Linked DNA regions of Homo sapiens: regions 2, 3 and 4 are each linked to region 1. Evidence: promoter capture Hi-C in 16 types of primary human blood cells and fetal thymus (Javierre and others, 2016). All regions are on one chromosome and are shown on one strand. The core of a region is centred on a gene start or on the middle of the fragment in contact, and the rest is flanking DNA. Distances in the headings are between cores, read along the strand shown. Region 1 holds the start of POT1 (protection of telomeres 1). Region 2 holds the start of LMOD2 (leiomodin 2). Region 3 overlaps WASL (WASP like actin nucleation promoting factor). Region 4 has its middle 12 kb from the start of WASL-DT.

Region 1 (2,626 bases), core at 84-2,583:
CCAGAGATGGAAGGAGGATAGCATCTAAACCTTCCCTATAGTTTTCCTCAAATGGACAGCTCCTGAGTTCATGCACTTGTCACCCCGGCTTCTGCGTGGGATATAACTACAGGGATGGGGAGGGGAAACAGGAGATGGGCTAATACTGAATGCTTCCTGTTGATTAAAAAGGCACTTCAAACATAGCTGGCTGGGCACAGTGGCTCATGTCTGTAATCCCAGCACTTTGGGAGGCCAAGGTGGGCGGATCACAAGGTCAGGAGTTCGAGACCAGCCTGGCCAAAATGGGAAACCCCGTCTCTACTAAACAAATACAAAAATTAGCCAGGCATGGTGGCCTGCGCCTGTAATCCCAGCTACTAGGGAGGCTGAGGCAGAAGAATTGCTTGAACCCGGGAGGTGGGGGTTGCAGTTAGCCGAGATTGCGCCATTGCACTCCAGCCTGGTGACAGAGCGAGATTCCGTCTCAAAAAAAAAAAAAAAGTTAGCTATATCCTCCTGCAAATATGTATATAAAGAAGATATTTTAGTTCAAATTAGCCTTGGAAATATTCATGTAATTCTTTATTACATTTAGTTTCACACTAGGATGATTTCACTTAAATGATTGAAGGCATATATCTGGAATTAGCAGAGAATTCATGTTTAACAATTTATCATTATAAATGATAAATTATAATATTTATCAATTATAAGTTATAATAAATATTAAATAAACTATAATAAACCTATAAAATAAATTATAATAAATATTAATTATACCACAAAATCATGGCCCTATAAAACAATGACAAGGTTAATCAAATCTGTCTGTAAATAGCAAGACTCAATGGTGGCATTATGCCAATGCCCGAAATTACTATAAAAACTCCCAAATAACATTGTTATCCTTGTAAATGCTTCCTTGTAAAGACTGCAGTAGGTGCCTATTTCTTGGAGGAAGAGAACTGGACATTAAAAGAAAGGCTCTGCCTACAGGAGCTTCGAATCTACCAAAGGGAAGCTCAAATCCCGCCCAGCGGACCCGCCCGCTTCCCCTAAGCTTGCCTCCCGCCACGAAAGCTGGAAAGTCACTGGGGGCGGAGCTAAGGGGAGCTGCGAGAATTCCGGGGGATGTGACCGGACTGGGCGGGGCCTGTACCTTGGCCCTGCGCTCCCGTTGACGTCGCATCCTGTCAGTATTTCGCCAAACCTCCAGGCGCCATCAGTGTGTGAACCGTTACGCAGCTGGTCCACCGCGGGCGGAGAACAAGCGACTATGCCCAGGGATCCTGCACGCATGCGTGGAGCTGAACCGTCAGCGTGCGTGTGACGTCACCTGCGCGCCCGCCTAAACTCTTCCTAGGGTTCTTTCTAGAGTACGGGTGAGTGAAATTTGTAAGGTTTGGTGTGTTCATTTGAGTGGGTGCCAGACGTAACGGGCCCGGGATTGAATTAGTTTAGATCAAAATTTGATGTAATTATCGCAGAGAAACGCTTTCTTACGAGTGTTTATCTCGAGCCTGCTGTGTTCAGCATCTTTCTTGGTGTTTTGGGAGAAGCAGACAGGAGTTAAGTCCAAGTCCCCGCCCTCACAGAGCTCAGGTGGCTTGGGGGAAGGTTGGTGCGCAAACATTAAAATTAGATATCGACACTAGTGAGTGTCCCCGTCAAGAGGTCTGTGAAATAAGGTTGAGCCTACGATGCAGAAGTTAATCTCAGTTCAGTAATTTTTGTTTCTTCATTTATTTAGCGGGTGAAGGGAGGGGGCCACAGAAACATGTTGGAGTACGATGCTTTTGGTGCACAGTTTGTCTATACAATATTACAGCTCCCGTGGGGGTTAAAAAAAAACACGATTTTTCAGCCTCCCTCTTCCCCAATAAATTTTACATTTTAAAGCACAATGTTAAAAGCGTTTGTTAGTGACGTTACAGATCTTAAAACTGGCTTTTTGGAGGTACTTTACGCAGCTAAGTAGAAAATGGTTAAGTTTCAGTTCCTTGGAAGAATGTTTTGTATTGATCTTTGCAATAAAATTGTAAAATAATCCATCCTCCTGTCACCCCCCAACCCCGAACCGTGTTAACTATAATAAGGAAAAGCATAACTAAGTCAAAGAGACTTAAAGCAAATTATTGACTTCATTTTGGGTAAAACACTGGTTTTGTATTTTCAGCAGCAAGTTGTCAGATTCCCTAGTTGAATTTGCTTTGGACATCAGTGTGAAGCAGAACTGATATGCCACTTGAATTAATAAAGGAAGTCAATGGGGTGCCTGAAGTTCAGCCGCTGAGTAAATTACATAAAGTAGATTTCGGATCCCTACAGCCAGGTTACAATTATAGCAAGAAATATATTCAGGTAAGAATTTCTATAACTCAGAATGCTTTTTCCTACTAAAAGGAATGCAGTTTTTAAGTGTTGAGTTTATTTATGAGAACTGGTTTAGGTATGGTTTTTATCTTTGTCATAACATTTGAGATTGAATATTTCAATAAGTTATTCTTATTCAGTACTTATTTAGCGAACAATTATCAAATTCGTGTGTGAAACATTGGAGTAAGTTTCTGAGGTACAAAGATGAATAAATATAGTCCCGGAACTAAAGATAATCACATTTCTGTGGGGTCTGACAGATCAATCA
Region 2 (2,626 bases), core at 64-2,563, 1.3 Mb after region 1:
CTTCTGGTATTGACTCATTTGGCAAATTCAAAATAACTGTTTACTGGGCAGTACACAAGAGCTTTATAGGCCTGAGCTCTGATATAAGCACATTTCCTAACCTCAGGATCACCATCGTAAAGGAGACAGAAATCGAAGAGATCATCTATACAGCTGTGCTGCCCCTGAGTCCTCAGATGGGTTTCAGGATGTGTTATCATTTTGAAATTCTATGCAAAAGTTGGTGTATTTTGCACAAGCCCAGGGCTATTTTCTTAAGAAGGTTCATAACTTATCAAAATCTCAAAGGGGTTCTTGATTCGCAAAAGAAACACTGTCTCTAACTCCCTCAATGTCCAGAGGGAAAGAGAACCCTGTAAAAGTGATTGTTCAAGGTCTAAAGATGTGGGAACAGAGCAGGGACTCATAACAAGGCCCTGTGACTCTCAGTGTCATGTACTTCCCACCACCCCACACTTCTTGGTATTGGAAAAGAACTATTTCACCATAGCTACTATCACAGTCAAAGCAACCAGCGTTCCCACTTTTGTCTTTATAGGAGAAAATAAATGTACTTAACTGAAAAAAAAGTATACATTTATACGTATGCATGTATCTTGGGAACAAATATTATGCCACATTACCAACATATAGCTCAAACAACACTTATGTTTGGCAAAATATTGAATCCCATACACTGATTGTGAATTATTTTCCTCTTGAGCTTTCTATTTGTAATCAATCAAAGAGCCCCAATTAAGAATTTTACATATTATGATCCATTGGGTGGCCATAGCATTTACATGATTATTTCAGCCTGAAAAATGATTTAGTAGCAAGTATAAATGGGTTATAGGAAAATTCAAGTGATGAGGATTGAGAAGTTAGGGAAAACAAGTGTCTGGGTTTGGGATGGGGTGATGGGGAGGTGGGGTTAGCCAAGGAAAAGTCCCGAGAGCCTACCTTTCCACATTCCCCCAGCCTCTCCTTCTCCAAGAGTTTTTGGGACTCCTTTTCCCAATAGGCCATCAGTGCCTCTCTGCTGAATGTCCCTGTGGGGGTTTTCTCTGTCAGGCTCTTTTGCCTTAGCCCCACGGGAAGGTTGCGGTCAGGTTCAATGTCTTCCAACTCTCTCTCTAGCTCCTTCAGCTCCTCGGCTGACAGGGAGGCGAGGAGTTCATCCTCGTCGATGGATTCGTATTTACTGAGTCCTCTTCGGTAGCCAAAGGTAGACATGGTCCCTGCTTTGTCAGACCCAGAAGGAGCTTGAAGGACCAGGCATTCAAGGCGGCCAGAAGCAGGCAGGGAGGCAAGTGGCAGGCTGGTCAACAACTGGTGCTAGGAGTGGCTGTGGGAGCCTTTTAAGAGTGGTGATACAGGGCTGTGACAATGCAGAGAGGGGTGAAGGCATGGGCTGTTTTAAGCATCAGACGTCAGCTAGACATTTGAACACAAAGAATGTCACATCGGTGGTGGATGGAGGTCTCAGAACCAGTGGGGATTATTAACATACTGGCCAGGGCCATATTTAGCTGAGTCTGATAGCTCATGAGGACAGGCAGAGTGTTTCAGATAAGGAGTAACACAGTTCTTCTCACTTTGTATTCAAACAACAGGGAAATAAAATTTATTTTGAAAATGACTTGCCACCACCTCCATGGCCATGAAAAGATTCTTTCATTATAATCTTAGGGTTGAGAAATGTCTCCACAATACTCCATGGGTAGTTATTTTGGTTCTTCTATAAACATACTGTAGGTGGTATTGATGGGGACAAAAGGTCATAATAATATAGTATTTCATAATTTTATCCTACTTTGCAGTTTACAAAGCACTTCAATAAGTTTTTCTAATCATAAATACTGTGAGATGAATAACATGATTCTCATTTATAGATGTTGGCAACTGAGGCTCTCAGAGATTAAGTGAAACGTCAGAAGTTGGAGAGCTGAAAGTACAGAGAGGTGTCTTTCTCCACTGAACGAAATGCTTCTTCCTACTCACCATGATTACTAGTAAAAATCTAGACTTGCAAATGAAACTCGAAAAATACAAATAATAATACTGGATATGATTTATTAAGGACTGACATTATGCCATTCCAGTGTTAAGCATTATCTCCTTTAATTCTACAGTCCTGTAAGGTGTACATTAGTGCCTGTACTTAACTAGTACACACTCAGAGAGGTTAAGTTACTAGCATGGGAGCACAGAGCTAAGAAGTGAGAGAGCTAGAATCTGAGCCCAGATTTGTATCTGGCCTGAAAATGGAAGAGATGCTAATTTGAAATTATATATATGACTTAATCACTACATATTATATATATACAACAAATTTTCTTATGTACTCCATACATTTGCACAAATTAAAAAAAGAAATTATATATGAGCATATTGTTGTGTATATGTTAAAATAAATCCATAGTTTATAGGACTCCATAAATATAACACCATTTTATAGATATGTAAAATCTATTAAAAATATTAATGCATACAAAAATACATTTATCAATACATGTATAGTACATGATATTCTGATTATACCTTCAGCAGCTGGTGAATATTTGGGTTGTTTCTAGCTTTGGGTTTCTACCTTTTATCTATGAATAAAGTTTCTATGAACATTTACATGCAAGTGTTTGAGTAA
Region 3 (2,626 bases), core at 58-2,557, 1.2 Mb after region 1:
TTTTGTGAATAAATACGATTCTTTAAATTATTTTTATTAGGAACATTCCTTTGTGTAGTTATCCCAACTTTGACCTTCTGTTGACCTTATAAATTCCATATCTTGTTCTAATAAATTATTTGCATGAGATTATCCCTAGGACTTTCCAGAGCATTATTGTCCAATAGAACTTTTTATGATGCTGTCCAATATGGTAGACATCTGTGATTATTGCGCACTTGAAATGTAGCAGGTGTGACTTTGAGAGACAACATTTTTAACATATTTGAATAGCCATTGTGGCTAGTGGTGACCTTATTAAACAGTACAGCTCCAGAGAGCAAAAGCAAGATGAGTCCAGAAACTAACAGTACCCTCCCGCCTGCCCCTGCCCCCACCCCCAAAGCCACCCAGCTTTGGAGCTTACCTAGAGAGGACAGTAACAGTGTAAAAGATCTGTGTGGACTCAAAGTGAAATCATTCCCAATTAATTTATACATTCTAAAAAATAGAGAACATTTATTAAATCTCAATCGCAGCTCACTGCAGCCTCTGTCTCCTGGGTTCAAGCATTTCTCTTGCCTCAGCCTCCTGAGTAGCTGGGACTGGGACTACAGGCGCCCGCCACCACGCCTGACCAAATTTTGTGTTTTTAGTAGCGACAGGGTTTCATCATGTTGGACATGCTGGTCCTCAGGTGATCCACTCTCCTTGGCCTCCCAAAGTGCTGAAATTACAGATGTGAGCCACCACACCCAGCCTTAAGTCTCTTAAATTGTGAATAAAATGTAAATCTTAAAAACAAAACTTGAGAAAGGTTCTTGGATTCTTTGGTGGGGTTTTTTGTTGTTGTTGTTCGTTTGTTTGTTTTTTGGGGTGGATGCTATCTAGCTCTTGTGTGTAATGTACATGAGAGTCTCAAATGTTGTACTTTAAGTCCTTAGGTTGTATGTTGAATTTAAACTGTTACTTGTTACAAAGCCCTTACCTTTACCTTATGCCTTCAAAAGCTCATATTTAAATAAAATGGCTCTCAAAGTAACCTACCTTTTGCACGTTTTTTGCCCACCTTGATTGTACATGTCAGTCAAGCAAACTAAAAGTGCTTATTTATATAAAGTATATGTACATCCCTGTGACTGTCCTTAAATGCTTATTAGATCATTGAATTGCTGAATATAGAATAACAAATATGGAAGACAAAAAATTTTAATTTGCTTATTTTTATTAATCATGTTTAAGAGTTTGAAAGACTGCAAGAGTAAGTTTGTAAAAGAAATCAAAGACTTTGTTGTTCATTATAGACTGGCTATCTCCCTATAGTAGCCAGAGTTTGCTTTTTATTAGTTTAAGCCCCTAGGCACTGTAGTATGTTATTCAGCAATGTTTATTTTTAATTTTTTAGGGGGAAGCTAAAGAGCTACTCAAAATTCTTGCTAGGTTACTGTTTCTAGGTCAGAAAGGTTATTTTTGTTTGTTTGTTTCAGACTTGCACCATAATGTGATTTGAGTAGGTCTTTTTTTTTTAACGTGTATATATTTTAAATCAATTTTTAATTTTTGGAAAGCCAATACATCCACATGGTTTAAAAATCCCACAGTGTGCAGGCACCTGTAGTCCCAGCTACCAGGAGGCTGAGGCAGGAGAATGGCATGAACCCAGGAGGCGGAGCTTGCAGTGAGCCAAGATTGTGCCACTGTACTCCAGCCTGGGCGAGAGAATGAGACTCCATCTCAAAAAAAAAAAAAAAAAATCCCACAGTGTGAAAAGAAAGTGATGTTTCTCATTTATCCAGTCCTTCATTTGCCTAGTCATTTCTTCTCCAACAAAATACCTGTCCACACACAGAACCTTTAAACAACTGTTACTAGTTTTGTCTGTTCTTCAGAAGGTTCTGTGCATACATAGGCAAATGTAAGTTATTTATTCTTGTTTGTGGTATTGTGTACAGACGTTAGTATATGCTACCCTTACTTTTACATCTTGCCTTTTATTCAGATAACAGTGTATCTTGTTCATCTTATCATTACTTGAATAACAACTTTTTTTTTTTTTTTTTGCAGCTGTATGGTATCCTATTTGTATAGCTGAACTGTGCTTTATTTAATGAGTGTGTATTTTTCTTGATGACCAAAATATTCGAGTAATTTTGGATAATTTTAAGATTCTGAAGATTTGAATTAATGATTTAAATAATGGTTTTGATAGAAGTCATTGTAAAGTGTGTTACCCCTTTACCCTGGTTTAGTTAAATAGATCAAACACGTTACTGAACTGATTTTAATTCTTATATGATAAACTGGTTGTTGGGAAACAGGTTTGGGGGTAACCATATATTTTGTGCTAGGTGAGTATAGAAATAAGACAGGGCCCTATCTTCAAGGAGTTGACAGTCTGCTGAGAAGACCTAAGTGAACAGATTATAATACAGTAACTGGTATAATGAAGGTTCCTAGGCACTATGGGAACTCAATGGATAGGCCTTTGTCACAGACTGAGGGAAAGGTGGGTTGGGAGGTTCCTGTCACAGGTGAGCAGTGACTAGTGACTATCTGGCTGGTGGCTTGGGTGGTAAAAAGAATTTACCAAGACAGTTGTAACTACAGAAAGGCAGATTTCTTAGAGACAGTATGAAAATATGTTGCA
Region 4 (2,626 bases), core at 78-2,577, 1.2 Mb after region 1:
AGAAAGAAGGAAGAAACTCTGAACACATCCAAATGTCAGAAGGAACAAACTCCAGACACGCTGCCTTTAAGAACTGTAACACTCACCGCGAGGGTCCGTGGCTTCATTCTTGAAGTCAGTGAGACCAAGAACCCACCAATTCCAGACACAATATTGCAAACAATGAGGAGCCTCTGAAGAATTTTTAGGAGAGAAAGTAACATGATCAGATTCTCACTTGCATGCTGGCAATGATGTGCTGGGTGAATTGTGAGAATAAAACTGGCGAGAGAAGTGAGGTAGTGAAGGATGCTTGATTTAGGGCACAGGCAGAAGAGATGAAAAGGAAGTGGTGGTGGAGGGATAATAGGAGATAAAATTGACGGGAGGTGGTGACTGAAGATTAGAGGGCAGGAACAATGTGAGCAATAGGAGGACAAGATGGTTTTTGAGGTTTCTAATTGGAAAAGAGAGTGTGGTGGTATTAAACACTGAGATAGGAAACACAGAAAAGATTTTAAACAAAGATCGTGAGTACAGATGTGTACACAATGACTTTGAGGAACTTATCAGTTGTAGCTATAGTCCAGACCTCAGAAGAGAGGTTTGGAGAAATACCTGGGAATCACAAAGAGGGCAATAAAAGCTGTCGACATTAATAGTGTCACTGTTAAGAACACAGGCTCTGCTGTCAAAAGACTCAGATTGGAGTTGCCTCTCTCATTGACCTTGTGCAAGTTTTCTAAATCTGAAACGTGCTGTTAATAATATCTCTTATAAACCACTAAAGAATTAAATGGAAACGTATCTAAAGCATTCAACATGGTGTCAGGCATGTCGTAAGTGCTCGGTAATGCTACCTTATATTATTCTGATGAATCGGATTAGAAAGTTAAAATTCACCTGTCTGGGTGCGGTGGCTCACACCTGTAATCCCAGTACTTCAGGAGGCCGAGGCAGGCAGATCACGAGGTCAGGAGACTGAGACCATCCTGGCTAACATGGTGAAACCCCATCTCCAGTAAAAATACAAAAAAGTAGCCGGGTGTGGTGGTGGGTGCCTGTAGCCACAGCTACTGGGGAGGCTGAGGCAGGAGAATGGGGTAAACCCGGGAGGCGGAGCTTGCAGTGAGCCAAAATCGCGCCACTGCACTCAAGCCTGGGCAACAGAGCGAGACTCTGTCTCAAAAAAAAAAAAAAAAAAAATTAAAATTCACCTATTCACTAAATCTTCTGGGGACCCCTATTCTATTCAAGGCCAAATAAATGAGGCAAAATGATAGAACTCTGGGTGGAATTAATATTTAAGATGCAGAGCCATAGAGAATGGCAAATGAGTGATCATATAAGCAGGATAGAGACACCCTACATAGGACCGATAGACACCATATTGATTGATGGTAGAGAGCTTGCAAAGAAGAAAATGTCCAATTCACATTTAGTTATGTGACAAAAATGTCACATTAAATATTAGATGTCACCCCCAATATTAAAATATTGGGGATGGAAACAAGCTCACATTGCTTGATGAGTGAAAGAGAAAGGAAAGTAGACAATGAGTATAGATTACTGTTTTTAGAAGGTTGTCTGTGAAGAGGAAAGATACGAATTAGTAACAGTCAGGGTATTTACTTATTTAAATTGATTATTTTAATGAAAATAGTTTTTAATTTGAGAGATATCTGAACATATTTATACATTGACCAGAAAGAGCCAATGGAGAAAACAAAACGATGTATATAGGCAAGAAGGGACTCAGAATCACTGATGGAGCAAAAGGAAACAAGGAAATGTAGAGCGCAGCAAAGCAGAAGGCCTTAGGAAGAGCAAAGTGCTTCGCTCAGTGAGTACAGAGATGCCAGACCTAATGGGTGCTTGAGTTACCTTTATTGCCACTTGAAGAATTCCTAGGCTATCAAAGAATTACTGAATTCCATGTTGAGAGAGTGCTAACTACATTAGGATACAGAACACTATGACCATCTGGGAAATAACTGAAAATCAGTTCACCACTGGGAATGAACAGGAACTGGTGGCATGTGCAGCTTCAGGCACTGTGGAAAAGTTCTGGTTCAGAAGGCAGATCTTTGCATTGGGGGAGATGATGATCTTAACAGTGGTCACTATAAGGGAGCTCAACATGAAATGACAGTGTTTAGAGTCAGGGCGTGGAGGAATTGGAATTACTTGGAAATCTGGGAAATCAGCATCAGAAAAGTCCTTCAGCTGTTAGAGCTGGAAGAGGAGATCTATCCTCTTAGACCAATATTTTATAGGCACAAAAACCCTTAACAGATTATCAACAATTGGAATTAAGCAATATTTAAAAAGGGATCATATATCATGATCAACTGGGGTTTATCCCAGGAATGCAAGCCTGTTTCAACATTTTAAAATCAGTGTAATTCCAGGAACAGAAAATCAAACACCGCATGTTCTCACTCATAAGTGGGAGTTGAACAATGAGAACATATGGGCACAGGGAGGGGAACATCACACACTGGGACCTGTGGGGGGTGGTGGGGGGCAAGGGGAGGGATAGCATTAGGAGAAATACCTAATGTAGACGACGGGTTGATGGGTGCAGCAAACCACCATGGGACATGTATACCTATGTAATAAACCTGCACTTCTGCACGTGTATCCC

The links. Contacts are between HindIII fragments. The CHiCAGO score rates a contact against its expected background, and 5 or more counts as called.
Region 2: a contact is called between the fragment with the promoter of LMOD2 here and the fragment with the promoter of POT1 in region 1, in 1 of 17 cell types (total B cells). The highest score is 6.4, in total B cells.
Region 3: a contact is called between a fragment that was not itself captured here and the fragment with the promoter of POT1 in region 1, in 1 of 17 cell types (total CD8 T cells). The highest score is 6.0, in total CD8 T cells.
Region 4: a contact is called between a fragment that was not itself captured here and the fragment with the promoter of POT1 in region 1, in 1 of 17 cell types (non-activated CD4 T cells). The highest score is 6.1, in non-activated CD4 T cells.

Annotation. Positions count from the first base shown.
Region 1 is chr7:124,928,532-124,931,157 of GRCh38, reverse strand. POT1 (protection of telomeres 1) reads left to right here and starts at 1,333. Exons shown (of 19, transcript NM_015450.3): 1 at 1,333-1,364; 2 at 2,159-2,343. It overlaps POT1-AS1 (POT1 antisense RNA 1), which reads right to left and starts at 1,285. Exons shown (of 8, transcript NR_125719.1): 1 at 1,142-1,285. RefSeq lists enhancers at 1,049-1,343, 1,098-1,397. The HindIII fragment of the contact is 3,988 bases long and covers 1,045-2,626 here.
Region 2 is chr7:123,654,553-123,657,178 of GRCh38, reverse strand. It overlaps LMOD2 (leiomodin 2), which reads right to left and starts at 1,313. Exons shown (of 3, transcript NM_207163.3): 1 at 943-1,313. The coding sequence starts at 1,215. The HindIII fragment of the contact is 9,966 bases long and covers 1-2,626 here.
Region 3 is chr7:123,719,758-123,722,383 of GRCh38, reverse strand. The region is part of intron 1 of WASL (WASP like actin nucleation promoting factor); the gene reads left to right. Among named protein-coding and RNA genes, the nearest start is that of WASL, 28 kb to the left of the region's middle. The HindIII fragment of the contact is 5,627 bases long and covers 1-2,626 here.
Region 4 is chr7:123,759,779-123,762,404 of GRCh38, reverse strand. No RefSeq gene overlaps it. Among named protein-coding and RNA genes, the nearest start is that of WASL-DT, 12 kb to the right of the region's middle. The HindIII fragment of the contact is 5,775 bases long and covers 1-2,626 here.